2 separate regions of the Homo sapiens genome follow, and region 1 is linked to region 2. Evidence: promoter capture Hi-C in human tissues and cell types (Jung and others, 2019). All regions are on one chromosome and are shown on one strand. Each heading gives the region's core, a stretch centred on a gene start or on the middle of the fragment in contact. The rest is flanking DNA. Distances are from core to core; before and after follow the strand shown. Region 1 overlaps AGO2 (argonaute RISC catalytic component 2). Region 2 holds the start of PTK2 (protein tyrosine kinase 2).

Region 1 (4,686 bases), core at 636-3,135, 420 kb after region 2:
AGTATCAGTATTTTCATTATTGAAAGCTAGAAGCAAGAAAGAACTATCTTAGGAAATTGCATGTTTTATGAATTACCGCTGTGTTTTCCCATTGCCTTTATTCACAGGGGTTAGTACCAGGCTGCGTGCAGGTTTCCCGCCTCCCATGCCAGGTGTTGCAGAGGAGGTAGTCTCGGGGAAGGCTTCTTAGGAGAAATAGGGTCAGCCTGAGCCCTGGGCTCGAGCTGCGTCTGTGCCTGGACTCTGCTTGGGGGCCCGGTGGAGGGGCCTGGTTTGGAGCCGGCCCAGCAGCTTTGCTTCACCTGCAAGTAGCTCGTGTTCCAGCCCAAAACCTTCTTGCAGCCAGCGGTGTGCCCCTTTGTGGTATGGTTGTGAGGCTCGGTTAAGTAACTGCATGAGCACCTTGTAAGCTGGGAGTCACCGAAGGACAGTGACTCTCCTCCCCGAGAGGAGCGTGCCCGACCCTGAAATCGAGATTGGCCACAGGGCCAGATTCCCGGGCTCTGTCCTAGACGTTTCCTGGGAGCCGTCTCACTGGGTGGTTGGAGCCACCTGAGAACAGGGCCACGTGTTGGCAAGTGCTTTGTTCTACTCCGGTGTGGCGTAGAGAGAAGCTCAGTCGGTCCTCAGGGGAGTGGCTGTCTCCACTGAACCCACCTGGACTGTGATGTCCACTCCCTGTCACGGTCAGGGTCCTTGCTGGGAAGGATCTTGGTGAGCTGCTGAGCTTATGAAAAGTCATCAGACGTCATCCTGTGGATGACTGACACCTGGAAACTGTCCCTGGTGGCAGCATGGGTGCTGCTTGAGGACTCAGTTTGTTTGTTTGTTTTGTTTATTTATTTAGAGATGGAGTCTCGCTCTGTCACCCAGGCTGGAGTGCAGTGGCATGATCTCGGCTCACTGCAACCTCCGCGTTCAAGCGGTTCTCCTGCCTCAGCCTCCTGAGTAGCTGGGACTACAGGCACGTGCCACCACATCCAGATAATTTTTGTATTTTTAGTAGAGATAGGGTTTCACCATGTTGGCCAGGCTGGTCTCAAACTCCTGACCTCAGGTAATCTACCCGCCTCAGCCTCCCAAAGTGCTGGGATTATAGGTGTGAGCCACTGCACCCAGCCTGACTTTATTTTTGTAGCCTTGGCCCAGGGCATGGTGCCCAGCCCACAGGGGCACCCGCTGAGTGCCATTGAAGGGTGGAGTGTCATGGAAGTCTGTAGATGTGTCATCTATGAAGTCATGGCGACTTGGTGGAAGGCCATGCTGCCATAACCATTTCCAAATGGTGTAACTCAGTGAGTTTAATAACCTTGAAAGCATGTTAGTTTTCTCATAGGAAACAAACAAACAAAAAAGCAAATAATTCAAGGAGTCTCTGAGTTTTTCTAGGTCAGAAATACAGTAAGAACAGCTCATATTATTTTTAGTAGAGTTCTTTTTCTTTCCAGTGAATGTCAATAGGGATTGAAGTACATGTGATTTTTTTTAAATGGAGAAGGGTTGTCTTTTTTTTAAACAGACATTTGAGTGAAAATTGAAAGCGTTCTATTATTGAAAAATGTTTATTTTTCTAAATCTACATTTTGAACTTTACTAATATGGAGCCACTGAAAACTTGAGTTGGGATGAAGTTTCTGCCGCTTATGCATAGTAAAAAGCGCTTCCTGAGTAAACGAGCGGTTTAAGCAGCAGCAAGGGAGGGGCACCGCCTTGACACTTTTGGGCTCTTTGCCTTGTCTCCCGTGCTAGTAATTCATGCTGCCTCATCTCTCCAGTGTCTGAGACAGGAAGAAAGAACAGGAATGGACATAGCAAGTTTGATCACCAATGAGTTGTTATGATACATTTTAAGTACATTATTGGCTTGACGTTGAGACGCCTCCTCTGTGGAATGCAATATTGGCCTGGACGTGAATGGAAACAGCAGAGGGGGGCATATAGTGGCTTGGGGCCGCGGGATGGGAAGGGCCGCAGAGCAAGCCTGCTCCCCCGTTAATGGGTGTTCTCTCTGCCATTCCAGCACTTGCACCTCCTGCGCCGCCGCCCCCCATCCAAGGATATGCCTTCAAGCCTCCACCTAGACCCGACTTTGGGACCTCCGGGAGAACAATCAAATTACAGGCCAATTTCTTCGAAATGGACATCCCCAAAATTGACATCTATCATTATGAATTGGATATCAAGCCAGAGAAGTGCCCGAGGAGAGTTAACAGGTATTACGTTTCATCCTTCATGACCTGTGTAAGTGGTCTGCGCGGACAGACACGGCATTTAAACTAATCAACTCTGAAATTCTCAGCAGATCCATCTGGGTTTTTTCCAGAACGTTTCAGCTGCATTTGCTTTTCAAAAACAGTTTTTCAGAGTCAAACCTACGGATTGAAAAAAATATATATATAAATATATACCAAGTTTTTGTATTGAGACACAGTTTCAGGATAGTGAAATACATACATCGTAAATGCACAACTGGAAGAATTTCGACAAATGTATATACTGATCACCCTAGAAAGTTGCCTCATACCCTCTTCCGGTTACCCCCAGCCCCTAAAGTCACGGCATTCTGATGTGTGTCACATAGATTAGTTTCCAGGTCTGTATAGTGACACACCCTCAATCCCGACTGCTTTTACTCAGCAGAATTTATGAGACCCACCTGCGCCGTTGTGTGTATTTGTAGCTTATTTTTATTGCTAAATACTCTATTGCCTATTTCGTAGTCTGTTTTTCATCTTCCTTTTAAACACATGGGCAGTCTAGGCTGTGGCCATTATGAATAAGACTGCTGTGAACGTTCTTGTTGAAGTTCTTTTTGTGGAGGTGTTTTCGTCTCTCTTAAATAAATACCTAGGAGTAGAATTGCTGGGCCGAAGGGCAGCTGTGTGTTTAGCTGCATGTGAACCTGCCAAATAAATGGTGTTCCCATGCTCCCATCACGTTTTCCTCCCGTCAGCTCCGCTGAGTGTTTCCAAGGCCACCCACCCCCACCAGCACGCGGTGTGGTCAGGCGTGTTTTTTTGTGTGTTTCGGTGGGTGAGTAGTGGTTTCTCATTGTGGTTAATTTTCATTTCTCTGGTACCTGATGAGCTGAGCATCTTTCCATGTGTTTATATATTATTTTCATCGATTAAGTGATATATTATTTCCAGCAAAGTGTTGAAGTATTTTGCCTGTTTTGTTTTTTTTTTTTTTTTTACTGAGTTTCTTGTCTTTTTGTTATTGATCCGTGAGAGTTTTTAGTATATTCTAGATGTACATTGCATTTGTAAGCATCCTCCGGAGCGACAGAACCAATAGGATAGAGATACAGTCATGTACCGCATGACAACGTTTGGCCAGTGACAGACACATATACCACCGTGGTCCCAAAAGATTGTAAGGGAGCTGAAATCATAGCCCACGTAACGTAGTAGAGCAATGCGCTACCCTTTCTGAGTTTAGATTTTTTTATTTTTTCTTTTGAGATGGAGTCTTGCTCTGTCACCCTGGAGTCCAGTGGCATGAACTCAGTTCACTGTAGTCTCCACCTCCTGGGTTCAAGTGATTCTCCTGCCTCATCCTCCCAAGTAGCTGGGATTACAGGCACCTGCCACCACACCTGGCTAATTTTTTGTATTTTTAGTAGAGACAGGATTTCACCATATTGGCCAGGCTACTCTTGAACTCCTGACCTCAAGTGATCTGCCTGCTTCAGCCTCTCAGAGTGCTGGGATTACAGGCATGAGCCACTGGGCCCGACCTAGGTATATGTAGATGTACACATCCTTACCATGGTGTTACAATTGCCTGCCGTGTTCAGCAGTCGTGTGCTGTACAGGTTTGTGGCCTAGGTGTGTGGTAGACTCTACCTCCTGGGTATATGTAAATATACTCTATGATGTTCACACTGCAATGAAATTGCCTGAGTGAATTTCTCAGGCCATATCCCCATGGTTAAGCCACGCATGACTGTACATATATCTATAGATATGAGAGGGGATTTATTAGGGGAATTGGCTCACATGATTGTAGAGGCTAAGATGTCCCACAGCAGGCCATTTACAAGCTGGAGACCCTGGAGTGTCAGTAGCGGGGCTCAGGCCAAGTCTGAAAGCCTTATAATCAGGGAAGCCAAAGACCTGGAACCCACAGGGCTGCTGCTATAAGTCCTAGAGCCCAAAGGCCAAGGGAGCCTGAAGTTCTGATGTCCGAGGCAGGAGGAAGACAGTGCCCCAGCCCCAGGAGGGAGAGAAGAAATCACTCTTTCTCTCCTTTTTTTCTGTCTGTGTCCCCAGCTGATTGGATGGCACTACCCACACTGGGGGCAGATCCCCACCTGGTCCCTGACTAACACGCAGTCTCCTCTGGAAGCAGCCACACAGACATGCCCAGAAGTCAAGCTTTACCAGTTCTCTGGATTATTCTTTAATCTAGACACATTGGCACCTAAAAATCAGCATCATACAAGTCTATACTGGGAATATTTTCTCCTAGTCCAAAGTTTGTCATCTCACCTTCCTGTTGGTGTCTTTCTTTTAATGAGTAGAACTTTTTAGTTTTGTTGAAGTCCAATTTATAAATTTTTAAAAATAGCTGTTACATAGTGTATTCTCTCTAGGAAATTTTTGCCTACCTAGGGATCATAAAGATATTCTCCTGTTTTTATTTTAGAATTATAGTTTTTGCTTGCATATTTAGTCCACGATC
Region 2 (4,569 bases), core at 1,264-3,763:
ACTCCTAAACCTGAGTTCTCAGGCACCACAAAGTGTGCCCAAGAGGTAAGACAAGCCACTGTTTCCTAGGTTTGTCCCTTTTCCCGTTTGTATCTCTGTTTGCCCTTCTCCTTTGCATCACTTCTTCCCGCCGTTTTCTGATTTCTTCTTTTACTAAGCATAATAATAACCAAAGCTGCCCTTCAAGAACGTCAATTTCAAATGTATCGTGGCAGAGTCCAGGAAACAATATTGTGTAACACACTACCCTAAAACCTAAAGGCTTAAAACCACATGTATTTTATTGGCTCACAATTCTGTGGTTTGGCAATTTGGGTTGGATTCAGCTGGGCAGTTCTTCCATCAGTCTCTCCAGGTCTTATGTATGCTTCACAGGGGCTGGGTGGTCTAGTACAGCTCACTCACATGTCTGGAGGTGGCACCTTGTTGGCCAGGGTGCCTCAGTTCTCTTCCACACGGCCTCCTCGTGAGGCTAGCTTGGGCTTAAGGGGGGAAAATGAAAGCAGCATGGCCTCTTGAGGCCTAGGCTTGGAATTTGTACAATGTCACTTGTGACACATCCCATTGGTCAAAGCAAGTTACAAGATCCCATCCACATTCAAGGGGTGAATAAATTCCACCTCTTCTTGGGAAAAGTGTCAAAGAATTGATGGCCATTTTTAGTCTACTATGCTAAGTGCAGCCCCTTCCCCCAAAGTTATCCTTAATGCAGTCCCTTTGTGCCTCCACTCTCCTCTTTTAATTCCCATGCTTTTCTTATCCTTTTAATAATAAGCTCTCACTTCACATCACCCAAAGCTTCGTTCATTCACTTGACAAATACTTACTGTGTGCCAGGACCTATTAGTGAACAAAACAAAGCCCGTGCTCTAATGAATCTAAGATTCTAGTGGAGAGAGCGGACAATCAAGAAATAAACAAGAACACAGTGTTGGGCTATGGTGAACAATAGGTGCTTTGGAGAACAACAGAGCAGACTAAGTGCGGACTGTGTGTGAGGATAGCAGGGCAGTGGGTGGTTCCTATTATATGAAGTGGTCGGCTGTATCAATGAGGTGATATATAAGCAGGGTATTGAACGAAGTGAGGAGCAAGAAGTTCCAGGCAGAGCAAATAGCACGCGCAAAGGCCTGAGGCTGGCATGGAGAGGCAATTCCTTACAATTTCATATGTAGTAAAAAGTAACAAAACCCAGAAAAACACCAACCTTAATACATCTCATTAAAGAACAATACAACCCAAACATTTAAATATGGTAAAATCTTGATAAGCAAAAGCTTTTTATTTTACTTCATTTTTACTTTTATAAAAGCTCCTAATGCAATGACGTGTGTCACCTCTCTGGGCTTCAGGGTGTTCACCTTTCAAAAGGCCTCGGTGCCTGTCTGTCCTGCTTCCTGGCTTGTGGTTAGCATCAAAATGACACCATAAAAATGAAAGTTGCAGCCTTGAGGGTTCTTCTGGTTTCATTTCCGACCACAAGGTTGCCAGAGTGACTTTTTTTTTTTTTTAAATAACACAAATCAGTTATCACTTCCTGCTTAAAGCCCTCCAAAGGTTCCCTGTTGCCTAAAGAATAAACTCCAGGCACCTAAGCAAGCCCCACGCAGCCGTCTGCATTTTTCAATCCCTCCAACCTCGCCTTTTGCTATTTCCCCCACCCCACCTACGGCACGTTCCGGTCATAACCAACTAGCTCCTCGCTGAAACTGGCTCACACCGCGGAAGCCCGGGTCGGTGTCGGGGCGAGCCTTCCCTCCTTTTCCTGGAGCCCGTCTCAGGTCTGTAGCCCTCGGGAGGGATTGCAGGGCTCGTTCCCTGCTGGCGTTCATTTAGGTAACCTGTCTACCTCCAGTGGACTTCTAAGTCCCTTTCATGATTTTTCATCTTCCAAAATCAAATAATGGCCCAGCCCAACTTAGCTATAATGCCATGAAAAGAATCTCTGAGCCTCAGTTTCCTTGTCTGCAAAAAGGGCCCAGGAACCGCTCGTTAGGGTCGGTGTGGTGCCTGGAGAGTGCACTGCAAGGCCCGGGGCCCGCAGCGGGTGCCCGACAGCGGGCGTCCAACTCTGGGGGCGGGGCCGCAGGGCCGCTCAGGAGGGAGGTTCTCCAGAGGGGACCCCTTCGGGATTTGGGGGCAGGGAAGGAGATGGGGAGGACTTTCCCGAAGTCCGTCTAATCCCGCTGGCGGAGAGCGAGGCAGGTGGGACCCCAGGATGTCCGCTCGGCGGGGCGACCCCGGCCACCCCCGAGACCAGGGCTTTCCTCGTCCGGCCGCCACGCCCGCGCGCAGCCTCGGGCCACCCCGAAACCCCGGCGCGGTCACTACAGGACAAATTACGCGAGCAGAGCCTAGCGGCGCGCTGGGCATGCGCGGGGGCGGCGCGCATGCCCAGTCCCCCCGAGAGGCGGGAACTCCGGACTGAGACCGGGTCGGGCGTGCGCTGCCGAGAGAGGACGCGCGCCTCAGCCGGCTGCCGCGCACGCGCGCGGGCCCGCGCCGACGCAGCACGGCCTCGAGGGCGCGAGCCCGCGCCGCCGCCGCCGCCGCCGGTCCCGGACCACTGTGAGCCCGCGGCGTGAGGCGTGGGAGGAAGCGCGGCTGCTGTCGCCCAGCGCCGCCCCGTCGTCGTCTGCCTTCGCTTCACGGCGCCGAGCCGCGGTCCGAGTGAGTGCGGGGCGCCGGGCGCGGGGCGCGGGTCGGGGGCTGGGCGGGCTCCTTCTGTGCAGCGGTCGTGGGCTGGGCCGCGGCCCTGAGGGCGGAGGGGCAGAGCGGGGCCGCCCAACCAGTCCCGGGGCGGATGCGGCGGAGACCGGCCCCTCCCGCGCCCCCGGCCCGGGTTCTGGGAGGAGGGGAGGCCGGTGGCCGTGAGGAGGTTGGGGGCCCTCGCGGAGGCCGAGAGGCTTAAGGAGGTCAGGGGGCGCGCTGGGAGGCGGGGGTTCGGGGCGCTGGGTGGTCGGGAGGCTTGGGGAAGACTGGGAGGCTGAGGGACGTGGGGAGGCCGGGAGCTCGAGGAGGTCGGGGGTTTTGGGGGCGCGCGGGGAGGCCAAGGGGTTCGGGGAAGACAGAAAGGCTGGGGGACGTGGGGAGTCCGGGAGACGTGAGGAGGAAGGGGGGGGCGGCTTTCGAAAAGGCCGGGCGCGCGGAGAGGCCGAGGGGCCTGAGGAAGACGAGGAGGCCGGGGCTCTGGGGGCGCGCAGGGCGGACAGAGGCGCGGGGAGGACGGGCCGGCCTCCGCCGGAGCGGACCCAATGCCTGAAAAACAAAAGGGGAGAGGCAGGAGGAGGAAGAGGGAAATCGCAGGGACGTCGGCAGGGTTCGCCCGGACGCGAGAGGGAGGCTCGCGACGGCCCGACCTCCGTCCCCCGGGCGCGGCCTCGCGGGCAGCCAAGGGTGGGCTCCGAGCGGCCTGCCGGTGCCCGAGCCCCAAGCCCGCCGTGTCCCCGAACGCAAACCCTCAAGTTTGGTAGAGCCCCGTGGGCTTCTTGGCGGGAGCCCTGGAGCCCTCACTGAAGTCCTCACTGGAGTCATTGTGCTTCCCAAGTTTTCTCCTCTTCCCCGCCCCCAGCCCCCGACTCTGCCGCGGTGGCTTAGGCGCAACTGTTTGCCGAATTTCTCTCTGGGTTCCTTGTGTAGCGGCATCCTGTTCTTTCTTAGAAGAAGGGGTGTGTGTGTGTGTGTGTGTGTGTGTGTGTGTGTGTGTGAATTGGTTTCATTTAATTGCAGAATTTTGTAGCTAAATTCAGTGAGGGTAAAGTTTCTTTTTTTTTTTTTTTCCGAGTCATTTCAACAGTGTCTCATTCTTGCATAGTTAGCCTGCAGCTGGGTTTTTGGCAATGAGACTAAGATAATAGTAATATTGTAGTAATTATGGGAACTGGTTATACATTCAAGCTGAAAGCTGAAGGCAGTGCAAGAGTTTGGGGATTTGTATTTAAGACTTAACCATCGCTAGGATTTTTACTTAGAATGTAAACGTTTTCATGGCTGGAAAAACAGACCAGTACTATTTGAAATGAAATACCAGAGCCTCAACCTTAATATTTTATTTGGGAAACGGGTAATGAAAATGATGTCTTCGAGAGTTGAGCACTCCGTCCCATATTTGAAAACTTATGAGCAGTGCGATGCAAGCACACGGATGAACTAGTTACAAGACACATAAAAGTAAACTAGCATTCAACGTATTTTTGTTGGGGTACAGTATAGATAATATTTTCATCCAGTTATACTAGCCAATTAATTAGAAAAGCCCTATGATATTCAAACAAGGAACATTTTAAGGATGTTTGTGTCCCAATATCTTTGTGTTTTGTATTTGTGGTTATCCTTGGTGGGGAAAAACAGGCTGAACCTACCATCATTTTGAACCTTCTTGTTTATTAAACTGCAGAAACAACAAGATCAATATTACAAGGTTTTCCTTTAAAGAATTTCAGGTCACTATCAAATAATCTAGTTTAATAATGAACACAGGCACAGATTATTTAAAACACATGCTTCCTTTATAAGGGAGCCGACAATCACCTAAGACTTCAGTGTAGACGCTGATTAGAAGGACCCATA

The links. Contacts are between HindIII fragments. The study calls those that stand out against the background at their distance.
Region 1: a fragment that was not itself captured here is called in contact with the fragment with the promoter of PTK2 in region 2 in 1 of the 25 tissues and cell types used here (dorsolateral prefrontal cortex).

The regions. Positions count from the first base shown.
Region 1 is chr8:140,582,646-140,587,331 of GRCh38, reverse strand. It overlaps AGO2 (argonaute RISC catalytic component 2), which reads left to right. Exons shown (of 19, transcript NM_012154.5): 2 at 2,021-2,213. Among named protein-coding and RNA genes, the nearest start is that of ERICD, 49 kb to the left of the region's middle. The HindIII fragment of the contact is 7,107 bases long and covers 1-4,686 here.
Region 2 is chr8:140,999,226-141,003,794 of GRCh38, reverse strand. PTK2 (protein tyrosine kinase 2) reads left to right here and starts at 2,513. Exons shown (of 36, transcript NM_001352702.2): 1 at 2,513-2,670. RefSeq lists silencers at 2,079-2,498, 2,519-2,848. The HindIII fragment of the contact is 8,254 bases long and covers 1,039-4,569 here.